Linked DNA regions of Homo sapiens: region 1 is linked to region 2. Evidence: promoter capture Hi-C in 16 types of primary human blood cells and fetal thymus (Javierre and others, 2016). All regions are on one chromosome and are shown on one strand. The core of a region is centred on a gene start or on the middle of the fragment in contact, and the rest is flanking DNA. Distances in the headings are between cores, read along the strand shown. Region 1 overlaps NKAIN2 (sodium/potassium transporting ATPase interacting 2). Region 2 holds the start of NKAIN2 (sodium/potassium transporting ATPase interacting 2).

Evidence for each region. Contacts are between HindIII fragments. The CHiCAGO score rates a contact against its expected background, and 5 or more counts as called.
Region 1: a fragment that was not itself captured here is called in contact with the fragment with the promoter of NKAIN2 in region 2 in 1 of 17 cell types (megakaryocytes); the score reaches 6.0 in megakaryocytes.

Annotation. Positions count from the first base shown.
Region 1 is chr6:123,968,252-123,973,528 of GRCh38, reverse strand. The region is part of intron 1 of NKAIN2 (sodium/potassium transporting ATPase interacting 2); the gene reads right to left. Among named protein-coding and RNA genes, the nearest start is that of NKAIN2, 170 kb to the right of the region's middle. The HindIII fragment of the contact is 1,367 bases long and covers 2,491-3,857 here.
Region 2 is chr6:123,800,125-123,805,185 of GRCh38, reverse strand. It overlaps NKAIN2 (sodium/potassium transporting ATPase interacting 2), which reads right to left and starts at 1,321. Exons shown (of 7, transcript NM_001040214.3): 1 at 932-1,321. The coding sequence starts at 985. RefSeq lists an enhancer at 2,516-2,565. The HindIII fragment of the contact is 9,489 bases long and covers 1-4,830 here.

The DNA of each region.
Region 1 (5,277 bases), core at 1,925-4,424, 170 kb before region 2:
AAATCATCCATTGGTTAACAGGTAACCTTTTTTCTCCTCTATATAGACAGGCCAGGGCCTGCTCCAGACACAAGTAAGATGTAAGCTATAAAAGGTTCTATGCCTTTCCACCTCGCCTTTGAGCTTCACTTTCCTCTCCTGTTATCTTTCCCCATTTCTTTCCCTCACTAAATTCACTTCATAGCTCCAAATCCTACCCTAGTTCTCATTCTTTTAGGAATGTTTTCTTTAACCTCTGCTCTAACTGTTAATAATAAGCTGTTAGCTTTCAGAGACATGTATAGTTTAATCTGCAAGCCAAGACAGAAAAAAATAAATTCTAATGGTGACATTAGACTTTCCTGGTTTCCAGCAGGAATGATATATTAGGGAGAGAACAGCCCTCTGCCTGGCACTACAGCACAGAGAAGATTGCTTAGAGATGAAACCCAAATTTTCCTGGGTCAATGTTTAAGTTAGGTTTTTCATCAGCCAATATTTGTTTTGGCAACTGGAACAAAGAAAATCTGGCAGCAAATATAAAAGTTACAAAATATACTACTCTTTAATTTTGATAGTATTAACTTTCTGGTTTATTTGATTATATTAATTTTATGGATATGGTGTTTTTACTATGTATCAGGCACTTTTCTAACCACAGTATGTATATTCCAGCACACATGCAGACCTCACAACAACTTTGTATTTATCTACCATTGGCCAAAATTTCCAATCCCATGATCTCCAGAGGAGGAAAGGGAATCTATTCCTGGAAGTCAAAGAATAAATAAGGTAGAACTAAATGGCATGGTCAATATTAGTGGCTTATGAAAATGTTTGTTGGTTTTAAAGTTGATGGCTATTTTTTGAGTAGTAACAAAGTTTTACCAACATTAATAAGGCAAGGGGGACTTTCTCCAAGCTAACATCAGGCTCTTATCTTTTATAGAGCTTTTTACACAATATCCAAAGACGCTCACTGTTCAATTATAAGATTTTCTTTCAATCTTTCAATATATCCATGTTTCAGACACTGGAATAAGTGGCAGCTTCTCAGCTACTCAGATTTTAAACCTTAGTTCCTATCTCCAGTTTTCTCAGTAAATTAAGATCTTTTTCAGTTTGCGTTTAATCTTCCATTAGGCTATTTGTCTCAGAAATCCCTTGAGTTCTGTGATGACCTAAAATCAAAAACATACTAAAAATCCAGTTTGATCAAATCTAAATAATGTATGGTTGACCCTTGAACAATATGGAGGTTATGGGTGCCAACCCCTCACACAGTAACTTTTGGCTTTCCAAAAACTTAACTACTAATAACCTACTGTTGACAGGAAGTCATACTGATAACATAAACCATTGATGAACACATATTTTGTGTATTCTATGTATTATGTACTGTATTCTCACCATAAAGTAAGCTAGAGAAAACAATGTTAAGAGAAGCATAAGAAAGAGAAAATATATTTACTATTCATTAAGTGGAAATGGAATCCTCTCTTCATCCTTGTCATCTTCATGTTGAATGGTTGGGGAAGGGGAAAGCTTGGTCTTACTGTTTCAGGGGTGGCAGAGGCAGAAGAAATCTGAGCATAAGTAAGCTTGTGTGGTTCAAACCCATGTTGTTCAAAGGCCAATTGTATTTTACTTGTCCAGACTCTTGCAGAATATGAAACTTTAAAAGCCTTTTTTAAAACATCTTAAAGCATTTTTCAAAATATATTAACTTTCAACCGTATTAATATTTATAAACAAGAGCCAAACTTTCAAATGGAAACTCACATGTTATCGGTCTGGGTGCTTGTTAGATTTCACTAACTAAGAGCAGAAGACAGCTGATAAGAAAATCCCCCAAACCTTCCCCACTCCAGCCAATGTTGTATATCCAATGGCTGTGTAACACAGACATGATGGGGACAACAAGCTTTCCTAAGGGAGATAACTTTACCATTATTCATCCAGGAATATCCGCTCAAGATATTAGATGTGTAGGAATCAAACCATCCAAACTGACACAAAGTCAGGTTTCCATCCAAACTGACACAAAGAGATTGACTACAAAGCAGAGAATGTATACTTCTTGTCTGGATGGGAGTGCTATGATAAAAAGCAGTATGTGTGCAAAAAGAAAGAACAAAACCCCTTGAAGCACATACAAATCCGTATTAAAATACAAGGCAGTTATAATTACTATATTAATATATTTTATATAATATATAATTTAAATTACTCATAGCAAATGTTACTTGTGAAAGATATTTGACTTTTACATTCTTTCTAGGCTAAATAGTGCCTTGTAAGAGAAACCTAATCTAGCTACTAGAGCATTAGTTCCACTGTCACCTGGCCCTGAGTACTCTCTGATCCTGCTACATTTTGCTTCATGGGCTTCCTTATATACTAAGTATGTACTTACTATCTCTGGCCCCAGTCAGACTATCATTTTCATTAGCACTAGAACTTTTGATTGATTTATGCCCTATTTCCTAGGCTTCCAGCATATAGTAAGCTTTCAATAAATATAAATCAAATAAATGAACAATTTTGATGTTTTACAGGACCACCACAGTTTATGACTTAAATTGCAAAGATTGTTTTAAAGCATGCCTTATTACAAAATAGTTAATATTCTTAAAAAATAAATATTTCTTTTTTTCTTTTTTTTCTTGAGACAGAGATTCACTTCGTCGACCAGGCTGGAGTGCAGTGGCGCGATCTCAGCTCACAGCAACCTCCGCCTCCTGGGTTCAAGCAATTCTCCTGCCTCAGCCTCCTAAGTAGCTGCGATTACAGGCACGCACCACCATGCCTGGCTAATTTTTTGTATTTTTTTAGTAGAAATGGGGTTTCACCGTGTTACCCAGGCTGGTCTCAAACTCCTGAGCTCAGGCAATCTGCCCTCCTTGGCCTCCCAAAGTGCTAGGATTACAGACATGAGCCACCACACCCAGCCAAACGATAAATATTTCTAAAGAACAATGAAAAAATAAAAACAAAAATCCTCATCTTTCAAGTCAGAAAGCTAAAGTTCAAAGTGAGTAAGTTCAGAACCAAAGTCAAAGGCTGATTCTGGGGCTTCTTCCTCATTCAGTACTATTTCCCGTGGTAAATTATGTCTCTATTTCTTAGGCTTTCGTGGCAATTAGAATCCCATCTGTGTTTTCATTTTATGCTCCTTTAAATTTATTTTCAGTGATAGAACTAAATTTAAACTCTTACTATTTCTTCTAGTTGTTTTTCTCACCAAACTCTCATATACATACCAGCCTTACCATTTGATTTTGTGACAGGAGTGAAACTTTGCAAAATAAAATGAAGTTCCTTTTGTTCCTCTTCCCTATTACCCTCTTCTTCCACAAAGAAGGCAACTACTAGGCTGAATTTGATGTGTATCTTCCAGTTTATGTTTTTAAACATTTATACATATATATATATATATCCATTTAATAATCAGTATTTTGTGTGTTTTAATGACATGAGTAGTATAATATTGTACAATTCTGCTCTCATATCTTGTTTTTAAAATTATGTATTTGATACATACATCTAGTTTATGCATTTGTCCTAAGACATATTATTTTATCCTTTGATTGAATTATTCATTTTACTTATATATCCACTATAAGTGAATGTCTTCTTTCAATTTACTTATTTTGGCCAATTCATTTTATCTACTAGTTATTTTTGCGGCAGACACTGCTGGTTGGGTAACCCAGAGATCATTCCAAATCCCTTTTCCTCTCTCCCAGCTCCAGGACAGAGGCTGGGAAAGTAAAATCCTTCCTTTCTTTACTCTGTCCTAGGGGAAGCTAAGTGACATCAAGGCATTGCCCATCTAGACACTGGCAACTGTATCCAGAGTGGATTCTGTTGAAGCTTTTGCTTTCCTGATAAATGTGTTAAAGGTCTCTGTGCAACTCTCTTCTCCATTCCTTTTGAAAATAGGCATGCTATTTGAAGCTCTGGCAGGCATCTTGAAACCATGAGAGAAAAACAAAAAAGTCTTACTACACAGATTCTGGCTCCGGCATTACTGAGCTAGTGCAACGGTCCCTTCATTTAGGTCTACATAAATGTGTGCCAGTCATCTTGGTGAGAAAAATCAACCTCTATTATTAGCAGAGGTAGATTTATTCTTCAGCTGGATGCATTGTTAAACCGCAGCCATCTCTTCACAATCATGTTTATTTCCATTTCCTCTTTACTTCACTTCAACAGACCTTTTTAACTCCATCCTTATTCCTTATAAAAATATATGTTTTACCTCACATCATTTCATACCATAATGAGCAAAAATCCCATCACACATTAATACCTAAGGCGCTTGCCATTTTGTAATACAGTGGTAGTCAGGGTAAGTCTCACTGGAAAGTGAGCAAAAACCTGAAGACAATTGATAGTTTTGAAAGCCGCATCTTATTTTTTCTCAGGAGATACTGAGATTGGGTTAAAATTATTTTTCAGTGGTGGGACCTATACCTCCAGGTAAAGGCAACTTATATTCAAATCACATTTAGTCAGAACTATAAAGTGGGGGACTATGAGCTGGGGGGAAGGAGGAAACTACAGAAGAGTAGAAATGGAGCTCTCCTCACAGAGCTCATGGCCCAGAGGAGGGGGTCCAGGCCAGCCCAGCACAGCAAGGTGCTCCACACTTTGAAAATGAATGGGAAAGGTCCTGTGACTCTGAGGAGGGTGAAGGCTCAGGTCTGCCTGGGACAATCACTGAAGGCTTTATTACACATTTAACCCTTGAGTTCACAATTAATGGTGAGCAGAAATTTGTAAGGCTAACAGGGGCATTCCAGAGAGAAAGAATAGCGGAAGCAGACTAGAACATCCACACAGCTTCAGGCAATGATATAAGTTTATCATGAAAGGAGCCACACTGTGAGCCATAGAGTAGCAGAAGATGCAAGTTGTGCTGATAACTAGGACACAGCTTAGAGAAAGCTAGGATCCCATTGTACAGGCAGAAATAAATGAAGAATCTCAGAGATTTGGAAAATCACTACATGGCCCAAGAAAGTTTTGAAATGAGCTCAGATGATACAAAACATTAAATGTATATATTTAATCTCTTCAGATACAGAGCAACATGTTTAATTTCTAAAGGACTGAATGCATACTCCTGCTTTTACTGCTTTGAACATTTGTTTAATTGTTTTTAAATTGTCCTCTTCAGCCCCAAGATGGAATCATCTGGACCACTATAAGTAATAGCACCCGTGGCTCCTATTTTGGACATGTGATTAATTGAAGGGCATGAGCCAGAAAAGCCGTCCCCCTGGCCCACCT
Region 2 (5,061 bases), core at 72-2,571:
GACAAGTGTGAGCAAGTAGCTCCTACCTCAAATTAACCACTTAGAGTGGTGTATTTTTCACCTCTCAACTCTCTACTCAGACCCTCCTTCCATTGCCCTTAGGGAATTGAAATTCAGAGACATGACGTTTTCCATTATTGGTTCCTTGCCCCTTTGCAACTGTACAACATTCCTCAAAAAGTACATAGAATTCTCCATCCTATAGGATCAGACAACAGTATCTATTTCAGGAGCAATAATATGCATAATGTAAGACAGAATAGTTTTTCTTGGAATTGTCTGTGTTAATTGTGATTTAAAGGTTACTGGTTCCGTCTATGACAATGGTGTTGCTGAGTTCACCTAAGTATTTTTGTTCAATCTGCATACTTTAAAAACTCAATGTGGCTAAAACTCAAACAGTCTAAATTAGACTGTTGTAAGGATACCATGTGCCCTAAACAGTGGTTTTTTTAGAGCATTATACTTAAAGACAACATTTTCCTTAAAAAAAGAAAAAAAACATGTCTATGAAGAAACAAAGATACTGCAAAATTAGTATAGAGAAGAAAAGTCCAAAATTCCGTATTCCTCTGTTTAACAACCTGTACGGTAAATTGTAGGTGACAATCACGTTGTTACATGAATAGGAATGCAAAGCATAAAGAACAAGAGCTACATCTTGCTTTTCCTAAAGAAATTAAAGACAAGTTTAACCCGCACCTGCCAAACTGTCTTAAAAGGGACAGAAATAGGTGGGAACGGAAAGGCTCACCTCTCCTGTACCCCAGAGTGCGTCTCCCTGAAATCATCTTCAATATAGGCAATATATCTGTCACCTTCTCTTTTATCTTTTTCGTCCATTCTAGTCAATGGCAGACCCTTTGCTGCACTCCCCTGCCCACTATCTCAAAGACACATTACAGAATAAGGGGACCCAAGTGTCACTTACCAGTTGCATGCCACAGATAAAGATAAGCGTGCACCTGCCACTGCAATAACCCATGGTTTCCGAGACCCCTGCCACAGCCAGACTGTCCCACGTCGGCCACCGTCGAGCCCCCACTTTATCCAATCAGATCGCGGGGAAGGACACGCAAACCTGCCGAGGGCTCGGGGGCTCCGGGCTGCTGCTGCTGCCAGCGTCCTGGGAAGTGACAGGCATTAGGACCTGCTGGCGCGGCGGCGGCGGCGGCGGCAGCTCCAGCCGCGCCCGCCACACATACCTTCACTCGCTCGGTGCACACGCCGCGCCGCGGGCAGTGCCGCCTGCGGAGGCGCGCTCGGGGCCCGCAGGGGCAGCAGCGGCAGCCTGGCAGCGCCGCCGCGCCCTCGGGCATCTGGCCCGCGAAGTTTCGCCCCTGCCGCTCTCCGCGCCGCTCGCCTCACGCCCCCCAGCGCGGCCGCCGCCCGACGCGCGCTCGCCCTGCGCTCGCCGCGCGCCGGCTCCGGGGGCGGCAGAAGCGCGCGAGGGCCGCTGCCCGCCTCCCTGCGCAGCCCGCGGCTCCTAGGCACCCTGCGTTGCTGGGCCCGGCGGGCGGGGGTGGGGCGGGGAGCGGGGCGCGGGCCGAGCGGGGGCGTCCCGGCTCCGCGGTCCCCGGCGGCTGCTGCAGCGGCTGCTGCGCGCAATGATGCGGGTCCGCGCCGCGTCCCAGCAGCGGCGCTGCCCCTCCCTTCGCCCAGATGTGTGAATCCTCCTCCTACAACAAATCCTTCATCCTGCTCCCTGCCGCCCCCTCCCAGGGGGCCAACTTTGAGGACCGCAGGGGCTGCCGCCCAGGCGGCCGCAGGCGGCGGTGTCTAGGCGGAAAGGAGCGGCGCGAAAGCGGCGGCGGCGGGGACCGGGGCCTCGGGGCGAGGAGTCTGGGCGGCATGACCGCGGTTTGCTGAGCTGAAGTCGGTCGTGCTCCCAGAGCCACTCCGCGGGAGCGAACCGAGTGTGTGTGTGCGCGCGCGCTCGGGGGAGAAGGGACCAAGAGGAGGGTTAGGGAAGGAAGCTGGGGTCATGGAACAGGGGTGCAACCGAGGCATCCAGAGCGGCCGGAAAGCCCGAGTGGCGGAGAGGCCAGAGGTGGCGAGAAGGGGCGCGGCGGCACCGGACGCACCGCCCAGCACCTGGCTCCCCTGGGCTCCCGAGGATCTGAAGGGTCGGAGCGCGGAGAGCTACGGAGCCGACCCTGCTTGGGGAAGGGGACCGAGTTGCTGCTGGAGTTGGGAAAAATTAGCAACCGGAGGGAATAGGGATGCAATGAGTTGCTGTTGCTGCTTCAAACTGTTGTTTGTTTTCACTTAAAATACTAAAGAGTCGGAGACTAGTTTAATACTCAGTTACTTCAGCTTCACAGCAGTCCCAGCTGGGTGTGGATTCCTAGTGGAGATGCACCAGCCTCCGCTGAGCACCGGCCTGAAAGCTGTGAAGCGGCTGCTACCTGCAGAGACAGGCTTCGGAGCCCGCTGCTGCCACCTGCGGGCGGAAAGCTGAAGGGCGCAACATGCTGGCCCAAGTGGCTGCCCCTGGGGCGTGGATATTTAGGACCAAGTTTCCTTTTTAGCCCTGGCAGCTAAGGAAAGCAATCCTAACTTTTCCAGGAAGTGAAGATTATTTGTTGAGATCCACTGAGGAACTGACTCATTGGGGTGAAGTGTCGCGATTGATAAGAGGATGGTTTAGGGAGCTAAATAGCAAACAGCTCCCTAGCACCCTTCTTAAGAGATTAAGATGACGAAGCCACATCAAGCAGAGAGCTCTCTGTAGCAACTGGAACTTGGCGCCTACTGAGAAAAATGGCATTTATACAGGATAAAGTTATGCTGGGAACCACAAATAAGGATCCCGAATGATTGCTTCCTTTGAATAAACATTATGACGTATCAGAATGACTAAATACAAATAAATTGAATAGGGCAGAGAGACTATTCTCCAGAGCCTGGCACTGAATTTTCAGAAACGTTTCGTCAGTCCTAGGGAGCCAAAAAGGGATTAACTTTGTTAAATTTATGGAGCACAGATATTTTATTGCTATAATGAGAATGTCTGGTTTTAATCGACCCATTTGTAAAGGGGCTTTTCTTCTGAAAAGTGTCTTTCAATGTTTAATAAAATTCCCAAGAGCCCAATATGTGCTCTTAGGCACTGCAAAGCCTGGAAGGTAATAGTTCCACAACCTTTGGTAAAACTGAAGCCAGTTATCTAGTGGAAAATGTTTCTCTTAGTTGCTCTTCTGTCTTTATACACGTTAGCTGTCCTGTACCTGCTAGGGCTATGGGTATTTTGCATTGCCAAACAGAAAGCTGTAAGTTAATTGACTGTTGAAGAAGCTGCTGCCATACTGTCAAAAGCATTCTATTACCTCCTCAAATTAATCATAGGAACAACACATTTATATGGATCCCTCCGTAATCCTGCAGAGGTTTCCCTGCAACCAGCAATAGCCTGAGTAATCTTTAGGTTGTATAGGAAAGCAGAATGCTATCTGTAGCTGACTCCAGCAGTGCCCCACCATAGTTCTTGGACTGTGCCCTTTCAGTCCATGCTTGCGTTTTTGTAATCACTTGGGACAGTCTGTTTTCTAGCCATTGGAGGTGCTTGGCTGAACAATAAGGTTCCAGCCCTAAGAGCTACCCTCACGCAATAATGGATGGGAATTGGAGGATAAATACCCCAGCTTCTTCAATCCTCATATGGGAAACCGTCAGACATGTTCTAGTCTACACCATTAAGGTCCCCACCGAGATTGAGCCCTAGGTGTCCACAGTAGTAACTGGCTCATTCATGCGCTCTGAATTGGCTTCCTTCCCTTCCATGCCTCATCTCCCTGCTTTCATACCACTGCTTCCTGGGATCACCTCTGAAATAAACCACTCAAATCCTTGTGTCAGAGCCTGCCTCTTGAGAATCCCAACCTAAGGCAGTCTCCAGGGGCTTTTATACCTCATCTGACGTCATTGGCACAGTGTTCTCAGAAGTGTGAACTACAAACAATGTTGAGACTTCACTATGTGCAACTACTGCCTTATGTACTAAACCTACATCGTCTCATTCATTCCTCACAGGAAACACATGAGTTGATACAATGCACATTCTAAAGATATACAAACTCAGAGAGAAATCAAATATTTTTATCACGGGTGCACGTGTTCTTGGCGGCAGAATTAGAATTTGAAGGGCATGATTATAAGACACCAAAATTCGCTTTTCGAACTACTGTACCACACTCCTTTATTTCAATATACTTCCCTGTCATTCTTTTAGAATTCCATACGAAAGTGATGACAAAAATATTTAGAAGAATAATCACACATATTTTATCTCTAAATTGGCATCACATCCTTTACATACAGTATAGGCAATGCCTGACTTATGAAAGGGCACCCTAGTTATAGATGCAATTCTATAACTTAATGTGGCTATGCACTTCCTATTCTGTTTTCTATTATTCCTGGAACTGAGTGTCTTAGTAGAAGAGACTAAAAAGAGAATCCCAACAGTTCCACAGACGTTTGTGAAGGAGAGAGATGTCTCCAATTTGAATGTTGATTGCATTTTCACTTAGAAATAAGGTCATAAACTGTTTTGCTATATAAGGTGTTAGACCTTTTGTTGACTAATATGGTGACATAAGTATTGTGAATTGCCTTGTTTCTATGGGGAAAATGTGCTGCACATTCCACACCTCCATCTGCCTCACCTTCCCGTACTGTTTTAAAGTAGTTTTCAAGGTTGTTTCAGATCTATTATCTCATTTATCTCTCAGAACAACTCATGCAATGCAGTAGGCACACAGCCACTGAGTGAACCGGGTTACAGACTGCTAACACTCAATCACTTCAGCTACACCAAAAGCTCAAGCTTGGCGTTGCAACTCTGCTAAACAATTTCACTGAGTTTTATTGCCTCCATTCATTATTTTAAATCATGAAAGCAAAAATTAGTTCTCTTGAAGATTTTTGTGGGTACATAGTAGATGTATATATTTATGGGGTACAGGAGACATTTCGATACAGGCATAGGATGCATAATAATCACATCTTTACAATCACAAAACCAACCTATTTGACTCATTGTACACATTATATATTTTA